Linked DNA regions of Homo sapiens: region 1 is linked to region 2. The links are contacts of gene promoters, found by promoter capture Hi-C in blood cells and fetal thymus (Javierre and others, 2016). All regions are on one chromosome and are shown on one strand. Each heading gives the region's core, a stretch centred on a gene start or on the middle of the fragment in contact. The rest is flanking DNA. Distances are from core to core; before and after follow the strand shown. Region 1 overlaps C2CD2 (C2 calcium dependent domain containing 2). Region 2 holds the start of UMODL1-AS1 (UMODL1 antisense RNA 1).

The links. Contacts are between HindIII fragments. The CHiCAGO score rates a contact against its expected background, and 5 or more counts as called.
Region 1: a fragment that was not itself captured here is called in contact with the fragment with the promoter of UMODL1-AS1 in region 2 in 7 of 17 cell types (naive CD4 T cells, M0 macrophages, M1 macrophages and 4 more); the score reaches 8.7 in naive CD4 T cells.

What each region holds. Positions count from the first base shown.
Region 1 is chr21:41,900,094-41,904,147 of GRCh38, reverse strand. C2CD2 (C2 calcium dependent domain containing 2) reads left to right here. Exons shown (of 14, transcript NM_015500.2): 12 at 2,399-2,526. Among named protein-coding and RNA genes, the nearest start is that of PRDM15, 23 kb to the right of the region's middle. The HindIII fragment of the contact is 9,224 bases long and covers 1-4,054 here.
Region 2 is chr21:42,106,517-42,111,039 of GRCh38, reverse strand. It overlaps UMODL1-AS1 (UMODL1 antisense RNA 1), which reads left to right and starts at 2,506. Exons shown (of 2, transcript NR_027243.1): 1 at 2,506-2,744. It overlaps UMODL1 (uromodulin like 1), which reads right to left. Exons shown (of 23, transcript NM_001004416.3): 10 at 1,341-1,478; 11 at 1-160. RefSeq lists a silencer at 2,967-3,261 and an enhancer at 3,238-3,357. The HindIII fragment of the contact is 14,881 bases long and covers 1-3,653 here.

The sequences.
Region 1 (4,054 bases), core at 1,555-4,054, 210 kb after region 2:
CGTCTTGGTTTTGGTAGGTTGTGGCCGGCTTCTTTACCACATCCTGTTTTATCAGCAGGGTCCTTGTGACCTGTGTCTTGTGCCGACCTCCTAGCTCACCCTGTGAGTAAGGGCACCTCACCTCCTGGGAGTGCAGCCCAGGGGATCCCAGCCTCATTTTGCCCAGCCCTTATTTGAGCTGGAGCCGCTCTGGTACTAATGCCGCTGATGCTTTTGCCGCTGCCCCTGATGCCCCTTCCTCAGTTTCTTCCCCTGGCAGTGCCCCCACTGCCCATGCTGCGGGGTCCTGTCACGTGGGCAGGATCCCTCTTAAAAGACCTAGGCTGATGTTCCCACTGTGGGTTCTGATGCATGGTCCATGGAGCCGGCCCCCAGGCTCACCTGCCACGGTGCAGGCTGCACCTGGCACCTGGACCGGGCTCTCGGGGGACTGAACAGAAGCACTGGGCCTGGCGTGAGGAGGACGTGCTCCCGACACGTCTCCCTTGGTGGCTTTGGGAATTACAGCACAGCTTTCTCCTAAGGAGTCCTCCCCAACTCCTTTCTCCAGCACTTCTCTCTTCTCAGTGTGGGTCAGTGGCTAAACAAAAATCTGTTCCTCTACTCACAACACTCCTGACGCCAAATGTGTAGATTTTCTATGGCAAGCAATTTTCTGTTTCTCTGCAGACACCAACTGGGTGTCCTACAATTTAATTCAATTCTGGCATTACCTGGAGTTAGCTCAGATCCCACAGGTGAAAGGCTCAGCCCCACAAAACCACCCTTCCACTTTAGATGTCAGGTGCAAATAGTGGGTCCCCAGGTTACCACACTTTTGTCCCACTTGGCTACAAATTGGGGTTTCCATGACACACTCCTCGGGTTCCGTAATTTGCTATAATGGCTCACAGAACTCAGAGAAACACTTTACTTGGGTTTACCAGTTTATTATCACACAAATGCACAGCCAGATGAAGGGGCTCAGGGCACAGTCTGGGAGGGTCCTGAGTGTGGGAGCTTTGATCTCCGTGGAGTCGCCCCTTTCCCAGTACGTGCATGCGTTGGTTCACAACCTGGACGCTCCCTGAGCCCTGTCATTTAGGGGGTTTATGGTGCTTCTATAAGTAGGTATGTAGGCATGATTGATTCACTTATTGGCCTTTGGTGATTTGAGCTCAATCTCTAGCCCCTTTCCCTTCCCCACAGGCGAGAGGAGGGCAGAAAGTTCCAGCCTTCTAACCACAGGGTTGGTGCCTCTGACATCCAGTGCCCGTCCTCATTAGCATTCACTCGGATGGGGTGCAGGGGCTTATTAGGAATGAGAAGGATGCCCCAGCTCCGTGGCTCTGGAATTCAAAGGATTTTTTTTTTTGTTCTCTGTGCCAGGAACCAGGGAGGAAGACCAAGTATCTATTTATTATTCCCCAGTGTCACTGTTGTCACCGGTTCTTGGCCTCTGTGGTCTTATCTTGACTCCCTTTGGAAATGCAGCATCTGTAAGCCTCAGGCCATGGCCAAAACCGAGACAGAAGTTCCTTTTACCATCCTGCTACTTTAATAGCTTTGCCATTTTGACTTTACCTGAGCAGGAAAGTGTAAGTTACAAGCATCAGCTCTGAGTCAGAGAGACCTGCTGGTCATCTCAGCTCTGGGGCCTCCTGGCTGCTGGACATACTCCTCAATGGTCAAATGGGATAAAAGGAAGGACCTGCTCATGGGGTGTGGAATAGGAGTAAATGAGAGAATGTGCACAGAGCTCTGTCTCTGAACAGCACCTGGTTTGCCGTAAGCATTCTATTGATGTTGGCTGGTGTGTGTTGTTATTAACCTGGGGAAGGAGGTGCTTTTATTAACTGGCCCTTCATAGCTCTAGTTACTATTCTATGTATTTAGGCACTCTTGGGAGGGAAAAGGAGTCACTACCTTGCCTTTCAAAGTTCAAAATCTTCCAAAGGGTTAGATATTTTTTTTTTGTTGTTTGCTTGCTTTTGCCATTTTCCATCAACTCTATTCAGGTATAACTTAAATAAATAAAATCGGTGAATCTTAAGCAGACACTTCAGTGAGTATCTTGTAACCACCCAGGGAATCAAGCTGTAGACCAGGGGTCAGCAAACAGCAAACTATGGCCCATAGGAAAAATCTGGCCCGTCACTTGTTTTTGTAAATAAAGTTTTACTGAAACCCAGCCATGCTCATTTATTTACCTGTGGTCTCTAGCTGGTTTCACTCTATAAAAGCTGCATTGAGAAGTTGTTGCAGAGACCACCAACAAAGCCTAAACAATTGACCCTTTGGCCCCTTTTAGAAAATATCTGCTAACCATTGCTTATCGACCATTTCCATTATCCCTGGAAGTTCCCATGGAAGTCTTTAATTTTTGCTGATGAACTTAACACTGCCTTCCTTCTGGTAGAATTGTTGGTGTTGAATGGTTCGGATCCAGTGGCTGAAGTGGCCATTCGACAGCTCAGTGAATCTTCAAAGCTGAAACTCAAGTCGCCACGGAAGAAAAGCACTATTATCATATCAGGGATCTCCAAGGTACCATCGTGGTGGCTGGGGAGGTGTTCATCTGGTCATCTGTCAGTGACCTGCTGCTCCTCTGCCCTTTGAAGAAGTTAGCCCAAGCACTTGGTTAACGTCCAGAGAGTTCCATTTACAAATGTCAAATTATGTTCCTCACCCCACAAAGGAGTCATGTGTGGTGTTGTGTTTACACAGTTTATCCTATTCACCAAGGACATGGGAGACTTTCTAATCAGGGACGCTTTACACGTTGAGAGGTTGGCAAATCATTTCAAGAAAAATTATCGAAAGAGAGGAACATGATGTAAGACTCCCCTTTGGTACAGAACCTCTGCTCTCGTCACCACCCAGTCACGGGGAACTTTCACTTTCCACGTGACACGTTTCCAAAGCCTTTTACTTTTTTGCAGTGAATGTTTATTCCTTTTGTAATCAGAGAGAAATGAACATTGTAGTGTCCCCCGTGGACACCGCACTCCCTTTCTCCCCCTTCTCCCGCTCTGGGACGTCCGCTCAGAGCAGGTGGTGGCAAGTGTGTGGTTTCAGCTGTGGAGAGGCCAGCCCCTCAGGTGAAGGGCCATGTTACAGATCCTTACTCTTTTTATTACATTTTTTAAAATTGATTTTAAAATTTTTATCTATCTATTTATTTATTTTGAGACCAGCTAATTTGTTATGAGACTGGCTAATTTTTGTATTTTTGGTAGAGATGGGGTTTCACCACATTGCTCAGGCTGGTCTTGAACTCCTGGGCTCAAGCGATCCATCCACCTTGGCCTTCCAAAATGTTGGGATTACGGGCGTCAGCCACTGCTCCCGGCCCTTACTTTTTTTTGACATTTCCAAATGAACAGGTGGAGGGAGAGTTGGGAAGATTTTGATTTGGAGTAGGAGGGGGATGAGGAAGAATTCTGGACAAAAGAGTGGGTGGGTGGGCAGAGGGCACGCAGAAGATGGATTCCTCAGTGGCTGGGAGACAGGCCAGAACAGGACCTTGGAGGTGCCAGAGATGAGTCATCAACCTTGCCATTGTACCCAGAGGGTGGCCTTGCCCCACGTCCCAGAGGCAGGCGGGTGGTGTTTTGGGGGCTTCCTGAGCCCCTCCAGGGGCCCTCAGCAGGGATCCATGACCTCTCTGGAAGTCCGGGGCCCAGTAGTTGGGTTTTCTTCGCTCTTGGGTGAATGAATGAGCAAAATAAGGACAAGACTCGTGGTCATCTCCCCTATACTTTCTCTAAGATCATATTTAAAAATCACAAAGAACTCCTGGATCTTAGTATTTAATGTTCTGAATTCACCGCAGTGATTATTTTTATTGGTGCTCAGATTATCTAATCTTTATTTTATTTTATTTTATTTTTTTGAGACGGAGTCTCGCTCTGTCACCCAGGCTGGAGTGCAGTGGCGTAATCTCGGCTCACTGCAAGCTCCGCCTCCCAGGTTCACGCCATTCTCCTGCCTCGGCCTCCTGAGTAGCTGGGAGTACAGGCGCCCGCCACTACGACCAGCTAATTTTTTGTACTTTTTTAAGTAGAGACGGGGA
Region 2 (4,523 bases), core at 1,257-3,756:
GTCCAGGCCTGGCCTGCTGCCGGGGTGCCCTGAGGGTACCCAGGACTGGGTGACAAGGTGAAGTTCTCTAGGCCGAGGGCTGCTGTTCCCGTGCCAAGACCTGGGACCGTTACCCCTGTTGCCGCAGACAGTCCACCGCCCATGGGGCTCACCAGGTCACCTGCCAAGACACATCCACTGTCAGAGCCTGCTGGATCCCACCCACGAGTAAGAGCCCTCCCAGGAGGGCAGCATGGCCGTCCAGCAGGACTGCTCTGCATCCCGGAGTGGACCTGGCCAGGGACGCAGGCGGGCGCCAGCGTTCAGGAGTGTTTCCTGGGCCCATGTTTGCAGCCTCCCCGGGGCTCTCTGAAGGCAAATCACGCCTCTCCACTGGATAAATGAGGAAACTGAAGTTGAGGGTGAGGGATCCACCCGGGGGGCTACAAAACCCGGGCTTGAATGCAGGGCTTGGTTCTCATAGGCCTCAGATTAATCCATCAGGACTCTGGGAAAATGGGACAATTTCCCCCAGATTTGTGCTCAATGTGGGACTTGGTGCTGGATGCTGTCATCGACTTGCAGGACATTAGGCGAATGAGAAAAACAGAAGACAAGGTGTGGGATGTTAGGAAGCAGGACAGCACACGCAGTGTCTAAGGAATATTCTCCCCAGGGAACTGGTCTCGGCTGCTCCTTCCAGCTAGAAAGCCCTCAGCAGGGGCTGGCAAGCCAGTGGCTGGGCGCCTCTGCCACGCCTGTGTCCGGGCCGACATTGCTAATCAGTCACTGCATTTTAGGTCCCTACGTGGCCTCCTCCTGCTGCTCAATTCAGCATCCCAGGTATCCCCGACCCACTCATCAGAACTGGTCCACAGAAAAGACTGGGGGCCGATACAGCAGGACTAGAGCTCAGCGGCCCCCATCGGGCCTCTCTGCAGCTTCTCTGGGCTTCCACACTGTCTCGGGCTCCAGGCCACACCCTCTCGGGCTCCAGGCCACTGGGGAAGGAATCCCTCGACCCCGGGCTGCATCCTGACTTCTGTGGGCCCAAGGAACTTGGCCTTCATGGACCCCTGCACCCCTCCACTTAACAATCTATCAAAAATTACATTTTATAATGGCATTTAGATAGAGATGAGTGTAATCCAAGCTAGATTCATTGTTTTATGTATATTTACTATCCTTCTATTAATTTCTTTCTTCTGATTTTAAAATAAATTGAAATGAAAACATTTCTGTAGGCCCCTAACATTACCATAGGTCCTCAGCCCTGTGCCTATGGAGAATTGGGCTTTGCCCCACCCCCAGATTCTCGGGCAGGGGGTCTTCCCAGAGTCGGCAGGGGGGTCGACACGTACCCTCACAGGCCCGGCCTGCGCGGGAGGGGGTGGCGTCCCTGGTGGTACGGCACTGGCAGGTGTAGGAGCCCTCCAGGTTGATGCACCAGGCAGCCGGTGAGCAGTCGTGTTCCGCGCTGTCCACACACTCGTCCCAGTCTGCCAGGGGGAGACACAATCAAAACCCATGAGAAAACAGCCAAAGAGTGATCAGAAGACAGACCCATGCTGGAAGGAGTCCTTCCTAGCCGTCTTTGCAGTGAACGGCCGGGAGCAGGGGCATTTTGGGGCATCCGTCCAACACTCTCATGACAACCTTACGGCCTGCCTGTGCCCACCTTCACATTGGTTGGCTTATTTGGGGGCAAAGATTAGGAAATGTTCATTCCTTAAATATTAGCACCCATGGGTGTGCATGTAGCCCTCTCTTCTTTATTCTGTTTCCACACCCAAAACTTGAAATGTTTTCTCCTCTCTCTTTGATGTGCCAACATTCTCCAATACTTAGTGTCTCAACCAAGAAATAGGAAAGTAACTGAGCCAGGGGTGGGGACACAGCTGAGTATAACGTGAACTTTCCGCATGGGGGGTGGGGGTCCAGCGGAGTATAACACCAGCTTTCCACGCCGGGGGTGGGGGTCCAGCGGAGTATAACACCAGCTTTCCACGCCGGGGGTGGGGGCCAGTGGAGTATAACATGAGCTTTCCACACCGGGGGTGGGGGTCCAGCTGAGCATAACACCAGCTTTACATGCCAGGAGTGGGGGTCAGCCTGAGTATAACATGGACTTCTCTCGTGGGGGGGGTGGGGGTCAGCCTGAGTACAACATGAACTTCCCACGCCGGGGGTGGGGTCCAGCGGAGTACAACATGAACTTCCCGCGCCATATTCTAGAGCACCCGGGTGTCTCCACAGGTATGTCCCTCCTCCTGTGCCCAAAGACTTGTGATGTCATGTCACCGGGGGGCCCGCCTGAGGGGAATGAAGGTGAGGACAAGGACAATGTAGCTCCCATGGGGTGGCTGAGCCGAGGTCGTCAGGGCCAGGCCCTGCTGGAGGTGACAGTGCCTTCTGCGCGTGCTTCTGTAGAGCTGCGGGTGGAGGTGCTCGGGAACGAACCCACACCCGGCATGCCAGAGAAGTTCCAATTCAGGTGGAATTTAAGCCACGATGCAGGACCAGTTCAGTTCTGGGCAAAGAAAACCCTGCTGCTGAGTGCTCTGAGGCTCGTTTTGTGGGTTTTTTTCTGTTGTGCTTCCTGCGGTCTCCACAGAAGCAGCTTCCCTGGAGAACAGCAAGCTCGTCAGCTGCCACAACAGCTATGCCACCACCCTAGCATGGCCTGGGGGCTGCCTTGCCATCAGAACACTGCTGGTGCCAACCCACACCTCTTCCTGGGGTGCTACTCAACCTCCAGCCTACAGGTAACTCTCCTGGGGGTGCTCCGGGTTGGGGTTGGAGCCTAGGCTGGCTGGGCTGCAGTCCACGGAGGACAGCAGAGGCACCAGGCAAGACGCTGGCTCAAACCACCAAGCACCTGATGTCTATTTTGGGGCGTGGTGATTCACCTAATCTTCACTCCTCCGTCCCCCCAGACAGCTCCCAAGCGAGCTCAGAGGAAGGCGCTGACAGCTGTATTTAGTCTTGCATTAAGCCTTGAGGCTTGCCGGCCCTCCAGTTCAGAGGAAGAGGCAGGTGTGGGAGCAGGAAGAGCTGCCAGTGAGCCTCTGCACCCTCCCGGGCTGGCCAGGCGAGGGCGCAGAGCCAGCGAGAGCCCAGGGCAGGACGCTGCACACTGCTCCCACTGGCCCCGCAGCTGGGACAAGGGCTGAGCCCTCTCCTGGAGCAATGGGGGCAGCTGCTTCAGAGACTCCCAGCCCAGGTGCCCCTCCTGAGCTGGCCCCACCCAGAACAACAAGCTGGAGAGGGTCCAGGAGCAGGTACAGACCCCAGATCTCCTGGGCCACCCTGTCCCAGCAAGGTGCAGGCTCCTCAGTTGGACCATGAGCTGTCTTTCAGGGCCCAGGGCGTCCTCCAGAAGTGATGCCCCTCGGACTCTCCTGGGGGCGTGTGTCAGATTCACACTGGGAGAAAGAGGGCACAGAGCACCTCATCCTAATGCCACCGCAAATGGACGCTGGACAAATAGCGGTACCCGTGAACCTAAGGAAAGGAAGCAGCCTGCAGTAGGTTAGCCTGGCCAGCAGGTGAGGGGGATGGTGACAGCCCTAGGCCAGGATCCTCACTCACGGCCCTTCTCTCACTCTGCAGAGGGGATGGAAAGGGCTCGCGCAGTGGCGAGGCGGGTGGGAGCAGGCAGCAAACTGGAAGCTTTGGGGAGCTCAGCTCCACCTACTCTGGCCCCAGGAAAAGCGGCGTTGATTCCAGAGCCCCAGAAGACCCACAAGGCCTCTTACGCAGAAGGATGCCGGTGGGAGTCCTGCTCCTCTGGCTAAGGTCGGTGCAGAGGGTTCACAGCGGTGCCTCATAGAAGCCCAGTGATGACCCTCACTCTAGAACAAATGCACACTGTATGAGAATCTCTCCTGAGAGCAGATGTTGGGAAAGAGAAGGAATAGGGGCCGTGCTGTTAGGAGCAAGAGATTGAATGGAAATGATGTGAGGGGTTCAAAAAGGAGCCCCGTGAGGCGGAAGGACCAGTGGGAACCCAGGGGTTGCTAGGAGACCTTCCTAGATGAGCTCTCATCCAAGATATGAAAGTTAATCCTGGAAGAGTTAGCCCTGAACGCTGGAGGGGCCATCAGAAATGCACTGTCGCCATGCACAGGCACTGGGCTAAACCCACACAGGCATTGTGCCTTAATTTACTCCATCGCCATAGGAGGTGGGATGTTGCTGTAATCTCATTCCACAGATGAGTATACTGAGGCCCAGGGAGAGGAAGTCATTTGTGCAGCATCCCACAGTGAGTGAGTGTCAGAGCTGGGATTCCAACCCGTTCCGCCTCACTCTAACCTCTTCCTATGGGGCAAAGTGAGCAGGAGGTTTGGCCGCCGCTGTGAGGGTGCAACTCATAGGCGCGGGGGGCGGCTCAGCCTCCAGGCCTCCCAGCACATGGTACGTACCTCCTGGGGAAAGACCGAACACATGGCCACCTACACAGCCCACCGTGACTGGCGCAGGAAACCCCAGGCCCCGGGATGGACGGCCTAAGGGTAAAGATAAGGTCACGACAACCTGAC